Linked DNA regions of Homo sapiens: all the other regions are linked to region 1. Evidence: promoter capture Hi-C in 16 types of primary human blood cells and fetal thymus (Javierre and others, 2016). All regions are on one chromosome and are shown on one strand. Each heading gives the region's core, a stretch centred on a gene start or on the middle of the fragment in contact. The rest is flanking DNA. Distances are from core to core; before and after follow the strand shown. Region 1 holds the start of AJUBA (ajuba LIM protein). Region 2 overlaps TRD-AS1 (TRD antisense RNA 1). Region 3 overlaps TRD-AS1 (TRD antisense RNA 1).

Region 1 (2,755 bases), core at 124-2,623:
GCGATTCTCCCGCCTCAGCCTCTCGAGTGGCTGGGACTATAGGCGTGCGCCACCACGCCTGGCTAATTTTTGTATTTTTAGTAGAGATAGGGCTTCACCATGTTGGCCAGGCTGGTCTGAACTCTTGACTTCAAGTGATCCGCCCGCCTCAGCCTCCCAAAGTGGTGGGATTACAGGCGTGAGCCACCGCGCCCGGCTGCTTCAGCCAGGGTTTCTTTTCCTTATTCTTGATCCTTTTAAAATAGTCAATATCAGCCTCTTTTCCATCCTGATCATTTTCATTTGCAATTTCCTCTACACGGCATTTCTTTTCTTCCTCTTAATACTTACTCTGTATCACCAGTCTTCTGTGGACCAAAACCAAAGGGAGAAGGTGTTCGCTAGCCCTAAAACCAGGCCTTCGATCTCCACAGTCACCTGAAATGAGAAAAATCTCATTTCCCAACACCAGGGGGTGTCTATCCCTCTAACTGTCCTACCCTTAAGGTAGAGATTAGTCCCAAACCTTTTCCTCACTCCTTTTCACTGCTTCTACATACACACTATATCTCTTTCCCTCCCTCTCAAAGTAGAGATTAGTCCCATTTTCCTGACTCCTTTTCACTGCTTTTACAAATCACAAAACTTTTGGGTCCAGAAGGTGGTGCCTTTTTATTGCAGTTTATCTGTTTGTCTCTCATTCTCTCTGGACAAGCTTGTCCTTTCCTTTGTCTGCGCACCCTTCGGTCTCTGCATCGTCCACACTCCTCTTTGCTCCTCAGCTCTCCCTTTCTTTCGCTACCTCTTCCCTCTTCCACCTCTCTCTGTGGGCTTCGTCGCCTTTCAGGGCTATCTTTACGTACACGTCTCTGAACCTCTTTATGCATTTGTCTTCTTTCTCTCTGTCTTCCTCTTTATGGCTCTCTCCTTGTCTCACCATTTCTGTACCAGTCTCTCTCCATCTCTCCCACAGTCCCCACGCTGGGAACAAAGTCACGGTGCTAGCGCAGAACATGCCTCCTGTCGTCCGGTCCCGGGACGCGACACATTCCACCATGCCCCTCCGCGCATTCCAACTGCAGACAAAGAGTCCCCGTCCCCTACCCCCACACTCTTTCCTATTCCAATTCTTCAGTGTTGTAGGGGCAGCTGCCCCAACTGCCCCTGCCCGCCTCTCACGTCCAGTCCGCGGGTCTCCACATCCAGGGCAGTTAGCGCCTTCCGCTGCACGCACACCAGCTATCCCTGCGCGGACACCCCCGGCGCTCTCGCACACACCGCGCTCCGCCCCCCTAGGAAAGTAGATCCGGCCAGGCAGACAAAAGTTTGGGAGAGAAGTTCGGTCTGTGGCTAGCGTGAGAGCTAGGGGGGCGGGGGCCGGGGAGAGTGGGGCAGTCGGGCGAGTCGACGCGTGAACAGATAGACCTGCGGACTGGACAGCCGCGGCCAGAGACCCTGCTAGCCCCGCTCAGCCCCAGATGCGCGGGGGGACGCAGCCCCTCCCGCTGGGGGATGCTGTGGGATTCCTGGCGCAGGGCATCCAGGCCGCCCGCTAAGCCCCTGTGCCTCCCCTGTGCCCCTGGGGAACCAGAGTCCGGCTGCAGGGAAAGAGAACCGGCCGCCGAGACGCCGCAGGGTGCCAGGCGGGGAGGGGGCGAGAGGCCCCAGGCCCGAGGGCATGGAGCGGTTAGGAGAGAAAGCCAGTCGCCTGCTGGAGAAGTTCGGCCGCAGAAAGGGTGAATCTAGCCGGTCTGGGTCTGACGGGACCCCCGGGCCGGGCAAGGGGCGCCTAAGTGGGTTGGGGGGACCTAGGAAGTCAGGGCCCCGAGGAGCTACTGGGGGACCTGGGGATGAGCCGTTGGAGCCGGCCCGGGAGCAAGGTTCCCTGGACGCTGAGCGAAATCAGCGCGGCTCCTTTGAGGCGCCGCGCTACGAAGGCTCTTTTCCCGCGGGGCCGCCGCCCACCCGGGCCTTGCCTCTACCTCAGTCGTTGCCCCCCGATTTTCGGCTGGAGCCCACGGCCCCGGCCCTCAGCCCCCGCTCTAGCTTCGCCAGTAGCTCGGCCAGCGACGCGAGCAAGCCGTCCAGCCCCCGGGGCAGCCTGCTGCTGGACGGGGCGGGGGCTGGCGGAGCTGGAGGTAGCCGGCCCTGCAGCAATCGCACCAGCGGCATCAGCATGGGCTACGACCAGCGCCACGGGAGCCCCTTGCCAGCGGGGCCGTGCCTGTTTGGCCCACCCCTGGCCGGAGCACCGGCAGGCTATTCTCCCGGAGGGGTCCCGTCCGCCTACCCGGAGCTCCACGCCGCCCTGGACCGATTGTACGCTCAGCGGCCCGCGGGGTTCGGCTGCCAGGAAAGCCGCCACTCGTATCCCCCGGCCCTGGGCAGCCCTGGAGCTCTAGCCGGGGCCGGAGTGGGAGCGGCGGGGCCCTTGGAGAGACGGGGGGCGCAACCCGGACGACACTCTGTGACCGGCTACGGGGACTGCGCCGTGGGCGCCCGGTACCAGGACGAGCTAACAGCTTTGCTTCGCCTGACGGTGGGCACCGGTGGGCGAGAAGCCGGAGCCCGCGGAGAACCCTCGGGGATTGAGCCGTCGGGTCTGGAGGAGCCACCAGGTCCTTTCGTTCCGGAGGCCGCCCGGGCCCGGATGCGGGAGCCAGAGGCCAGGGAGGACTACTTCGGTGAGTGAGAGAAGTGGTTAGGGACGGGAAGGGACCCGTCACGGTATTCGGTTCTCCACTGCCCCGACGGCCCAAAGTGCCGGTGCCCCGGG
Region 2 (2,755 bases), core at 169-2,668, 600 kb after region 1:
AATTCTGTAAAATTTCAAATGCAAATCACATTTTATTTTTGATGTTAGAGAAAACTGCAAATTGGAACAGCAGAGCTGTGCCTCTGGCCATTTCCTGGAACTACAGAGGAGCAACTTGCCCCGGTTTCCAGTGGGTGATGTTCCTCTTCTGCCACAGTCCCTGGCGATGTTGATGTGATTGCCATCAGAGCTCAGAAGCACAGAGCAGAATCATCCCCTGGAGGAGGATTCCCTTCAGTGTAAGAAGTTCTTACAGAATTAATCCTCAAAGACTGTGGGTGGACTCTGCCAGGTTTTTCCCCGGGTGTACCAGAAGAGAGGAAGAGCCCTCAAATACAGGAAAGTGCTCTTTTCAGTGACAGTAGTTCTTTTGGGCCCTGTGGCTAAGTGTGCTCCCACCCCAGCAGTAAGATCACAGCTAATCCTGAGAGGCAAGAGCTCACACCAGGCTACTGAAAGAAAAAGTGTCCTTTGTGGATTGCAAGAGGAACTGGGACACACTGCTGGAAATGAAGTGGCAGGTCATAAACTATCATAAACTCAGGAGGAGAGGTGTTCCTTTTTGAGACACTCATCACAACTAGAGAGAATGCAGCTAAGAAAATGCAGTCTTTAGGGGGACCTGGACTGTTGAAGTATTTGAGCTATTCGGAGGAAATAGAAACTTGGAAGAGATCTTTGTTCCACTATTATTTGGCAGCCCCTTACCCGCAGCTGCCATTACTCCAGATTCTCTCTGATGATCCTGCATCAGGAGAATGAGTTGACTGGGCACCACTGGGAAATGTGGGCAGCTCCAGGCTGAACTAGAGAAGGGGCATGTCAAAGGTCACTTATTTGTGGCTTGACCCTTTGGAGGCCAGATGTAAGAATCAATTTCTCACAGGTCCCATGCTAACGCTTTTCATATTTATTTCCATCTGAGACTCACTTAGGCTAGGCAAATATCCCATGGGTCTGTACCTCTCCAGTGCTTTCTTGCTCATGTAAAATTAGCTCATTGGAATGAATAAAGAGAATGGTATTACTTTGGCTCGAACACGAATGAGCACTTTCACTTTGTCATAGTGTAAATATTAAAGTTGTAAGAGACAGCCCAGGGACCAACTATTTTTTTTTTAAAGATCCAAGTGCTTGCATAGTTTCTAAAATTCTACACCGGGGAACTATATCCTCATTCAGCACTGAGACTCCTTGGTTCCCTAAAACCAAAGTCTCCAGGTGCCTTCAGGGGCCAACCAAGATGGAGCTCCTTATAGACCCATGCAATGTCAGAACTGGAAAACTTAGAAATCTTTCAGTCCACCCATCATTTTATGGGTGGCAAACTGAGATCCAGAGAATGCTCAAATCTCATAATTAGCTATGAAAGGTTATGATTAAAATGCAAATTTGGGGCCTCCAATTTGGTCCTCTTTTCACTCTCCTTCTTGCTGGGGAAAGAACAGTGATTCCTTGATTGGCAGAGCAGAAAATATCTTCAGTTTTTAGGATGACTTTATTCCCCTAAAGAGTATCTTTGTCACATCTCCTCCTTGTCCATTTTTAGAGACTCTACAGTGTTTAGCTACTGGTAGATTTGTTCTAGTGGATCTGGTACAAATCTTATAGAAATATCTACAATTATTCCATGTTATTCTGAAATTATTCATACAGCATTTCTTCTGTTTTATTAGCCATTTTTAAGGGAGAAGGAACCTAAGATTAATTGCTATGGCTACATGTCATGCTCACCAATGAACTCACCTCATTTTAATCCTCATGATCTATTATAGTAGGAATGCTTGTTGTACATAAGTATTCAGGATTACTGAATCCACTTGAATTTTTTGAGGACAGTGGCCAAATACAATTCTGTGGTCAATTTAGGCTGCTCCTACTGTTCCCTGATGTTAGGCATTTTCTTCCACTAGGTCCTCTGGAAGGATGAAAAACAAGGCATTATTATACTTTTGAATAAAAATGGTTTGCCAAACAGATTATGTTTGTAGTTTGTGCTGTTGAACAGAAATAATAAAGAACTCTACTTGAAGTCTGAAACAAATTCAGGAAAAAATTAAAGGCAGTTTTATTTTACATAGTAGGGAGTAGATTTTAGGAACTCCTTGCTCCTGGGGTAGAGCATATGAATGTGTATTCTAGAGAGATTCAGACAAATTCACTTATGTTAGACAAATGACTTTAAGGGAAACTAGGAATGTTTTCAGGGCACATAACCTTGTATTTAAAAGATACTGTTATTAGATCATTTTTTCTCATTATAAAAATATGTTTTCATTGAAGAAGAAATTGTGGTTTACATACAATTATAAAAAGAAGAGGAAGAAGGAAATAATCTATTATCTCACTACCCAGAGACAATAACTACATCATTTTGGCATATTTCCTTTTAGTCTTTGGTCTTAAGTATATTTTCTGACATTGTTGAGGCCGTTTTGTACATTCAATTTTCTGTTAACTTTATTTTCCCCCATGTAATTTAAAACTCTTGAAAATCTAATTTTTAATGGTGGCATAGTATTCTACTGGGTAGATGTTGCTCAATTTGCTTAACTGTTTCTCTAGTGTTGGATAGTTATGTTATTTCAAATTACGTGAAAGTATGAAAAATATTTAATGAACATTTTGCTTATATAAAATCTGCTCAGAAGACCCTTTTAATGATAGATTTCCAATATTTGGGTCAAGAGGATGACTATTTTAAAAGCTGTTGATACCTAATGCCAAATAATCTACTGTTATACTGTATCAATTT
Region 3 (2,755 bases), core at 170-2,669, 590 kb after region 1:
CCTTAATTTTGTATGTGTGTGCAATTCATTTGTCCTTCTGTGTATCAAAGACTACTTTTATTTGTCAGCTGGAAGATTCAAGTAATTATACAGGATTTAATTTTAATTTCTCATGGTTTAGCAACATAAAAGTGAGGAGATTGTACCTGCTGAATACATTTTATTATTTGAGAAGTGTTTGTTATATATGTTGGTATCCTTCACAATACTCAGTACATCAATTTGAAAGCCTTAAGGGACTTTTAGTTTGGAATGAATGAATCGATGATGCATTCAAGATGCAAGTTTAAGATGACACTAAACACCCTGTGTGTTGTTGGTGGATCTTTTGAATTTTCTGTGTTGAGGCTGCTTGAGGCTTACAGTGTTTGTTCAGTGTGATATCCAGCATGCATCATGGTGCCCACAGTGCACAGCAGTAAATGGCTCAGTCTCTTGGCTGCACATGCTTAAGGATTCGGGTTCTGGAGAACAATTTTCTGTCCACAGACAACTAGCAGTGCTCTGATTCCAGGGTGCCTTGAAAGGATAGCAGATATAGGTAAACCTTTGGTTAGCTCTTTGCAGATGCCAGCACAAAGAATCATAATTCCCATCAGGAATGTTATATTAGCGTTGGAACTTGACATCTGTCCCAATCATTGTGGCCATGTTGGAAGGCTGTGTGATTTCAGTCTTGCAGGAGCCATCTGGCAAAGAAAAAAATGATAGAAAATGAGAAATGAGAAGTGGTGGGGAATCACACCCGTTTACCTGGGGGCCACTTACAGAGGAAGGGCAACGCAGTGTAGAGAAGCTGGTACACGGCGTGTCTGCGATTCTCAGTGCTGTGCACCAGCAGCCTACATTGCATGCACAATGCACTTGGGCCACCTTATCTACAACAGCCATGTGGCTGCTTCATTGCTGAAGCAATAAAAGAAAGAGGTCCTTGGGGGTGGTTGATGCTGATGCTATCAAAAGACACACTCAGATTTGTTGAAAGGCTGCAATCCAACAGGCTCCTCAGAGGAGGCTCTGGTGCCCTCTGCCACTCAGGGCCTGTGTTTTCAGCATATGGTGCCATTCGCTTATCAGCCCCAGGAGGCTTATTCTCTGAAAGGAAACAGCCAGGAAAATAGTCTTTTGTTGAAAGACACTTGGTGGGTCATGATCTCTTGGGTCCTTGTTCCTGAATTTCAGGAATCTAAGATGCCCAGAAGGATGAGCAAAGGTAGAAACAGTCATTTTTCCAAGTGGACTGTGGCTTCTATTGCCTATCTGACAGTTTCTAGTACTCAGACTCACTCTTCAGAAGCCAGACAGGGAGAAAGTATTTTGCTCATTTTAAATTAATCAATTAATTGATTAATCAATCAACCGTTCATTCAGCAAGTGTTTATTGAGTGCCAAGTATATACAAACCTTCTGCTGAATGCTGAGGATACAATGGAAAAAAAAATCAGCTGAAATTTCTGCCATCATGGAGCTGGAAATCTGGTAATGATGCATAACTTTAGGCAAGAGAAGCAGGTACAGCCTGTTAGATTCTGTATATGATTCTGGGCAAGGGTAAGGTGAGGGCCTTCTGGAGTCTGTGCATATTCAGGCAGGACTTTTCCCCAGTCAGCAGAGCTGGTTGTGAGCTCACTATGGAGGGACCAAGGCTGGAATTTTCCCTGGCAACCCATGCCAAGTTCAAGAGTCAGAAGGTTGCTTTCCTGCCCACCTTCTTTCATAGCCATTTTCCCACCAAGAAATTATTCTATTTGTTGACAAAGTTTTGGAGTTCCTGACTTAGCACTGTTATTCTATTCTTGGAGCAGAATCAGCTTGGCTGCTATTGTTCCCACTGTGAGGATAACTGCATCTTTTGTGTGATGGTTTTCTTTTCACTGTGTACACAATGATTGCAGAGCCATAAAATTTTAATTTGGGATAAATAATAAGCTATCTTTAGGGCCAGTCTTATTTTGGGAGTTGGGACTGATGGAGGTCAAGGATCCTTTCTTTTTTCTTGCCTTTCTCAAAATCTGTACCCCCACCCCTGCCACTCTCCTACTTCATCTCTTTCCTTCTCTGTCTTTCAAGATCACATATCTTTCTGCAAAATACACTCATGAACAATTTTAAAGGGAGAGCAGGACAATGGACAAAGGAATAAGGAGACATTCACCCCAAGATGCCTGGACTTAGGGTTACACAGAATTGAGCTGGTGACAACTGTGACTGCACAGATACACCATAGACATGTGCACGAGGAGTGTTGGTGGCATGGCTGTAGGTGTGCCCACACCAGAGCAGGTGGGGTGGCATTGGTGGCCAGAGGCTTGCCCATGGCAGTGTGGATGGTGTTTGTGACAGTGGAGCTGGTTGGGAAGATGTATGTGTGCTGCACGGTGGCCCTGGACAGGCCTACCCAAGACTCCCAGGAAGGCTGTCTTTGCTGTTGGGGGAATGTTGTACTTGAAGCCATTTTACTGGGCTGGGGTGCCAACTGGATAGGGAGGTCAAGGATTTAGAATATTTTCCCTGGATCTGGGTTTCCTTGTTCCAAATCTGAAGACAGGGGAAAAGATTATTCAGAGAAGAAAAAGAATATAGATGTTTGGCTTTTATTTCTTATTCAATCAGTGATCAAATGGGCACAGACAAAGTAGTTGGGTGCTTATTCACACGAACAGCTTTATAAATAAGAGGAGTGGGCAACTATGTAATGATTTTTGAGGGTCCCGAGAAGACCACTGCCCCCAAATCTCCTCTATTGGTACCTGGC

What was found. The method cuts DNA at HindIII sites, captures the fragments that hold promoters and counts their contacts. A CHiCAGO score of 5 or more calls a contact.
Region 2: a fragment that was not itself captured here is called in contact with the fragment with the promoter of AJUBA in region 1 in 2 of 17 cell types (total B cells and naive B cells); the score reaches 5.4 in total B cells.
Region 3: a fragment that was not itself captured here is called in contact with the fragment with the promoter of AJUBA in region 1 in 1 of 17 cell types (naive B cells); the score reaches 6.3 in naive B cells.

Annotation. Positions count from the first base shown.
Region 1 is chr14:22,981,169-22,983,923 of GRCh38, reverse strand. AJUBA (ajuba LIM protein) reads left to right here and starts at 1,373. Exons shown (of 8, transcript NM_032876.6): 1 at 1,373-2,663. The coding sequence starts at 1,658. RefSeq lists enhancers at 393-1,358, 1,359-2,324. The HindIII fragment of the contact is 4,726 bases long and covers 697-2,755 here.
Region 2 is chr14:22,378,968-22,381,722 of GRCh38, reverse strand. It overlaps TRD-AS1 (TRD antisense RNA 1), which reads left to right. Exons shown (of 5, transcript NR_148361.1): 5 at 49-2,318. It also overlaps TRA. Among named protein-coding and RNA genes, the nearest start is that of TRD-AS1, 100 kb to the left of the region's middle. The HindIII fragment of the contact is 4,926 bases long and covers 1-2,755 here.
Region 3 is chr14:22,395,579-22,398,333 of GRCh38, reverse strand. The region is part of intron 2 of TRD-AS1 (TRD antisense RNA 1); the gene reads left to right. It also overlaps TRA. Among named protein-coding and RNA genes, the nearest start is that of TRD-AS1, 86 kb to the left of the region's middle. The HindIII fragment of the contact is 3,589 bases long and covers 1-2,755 here.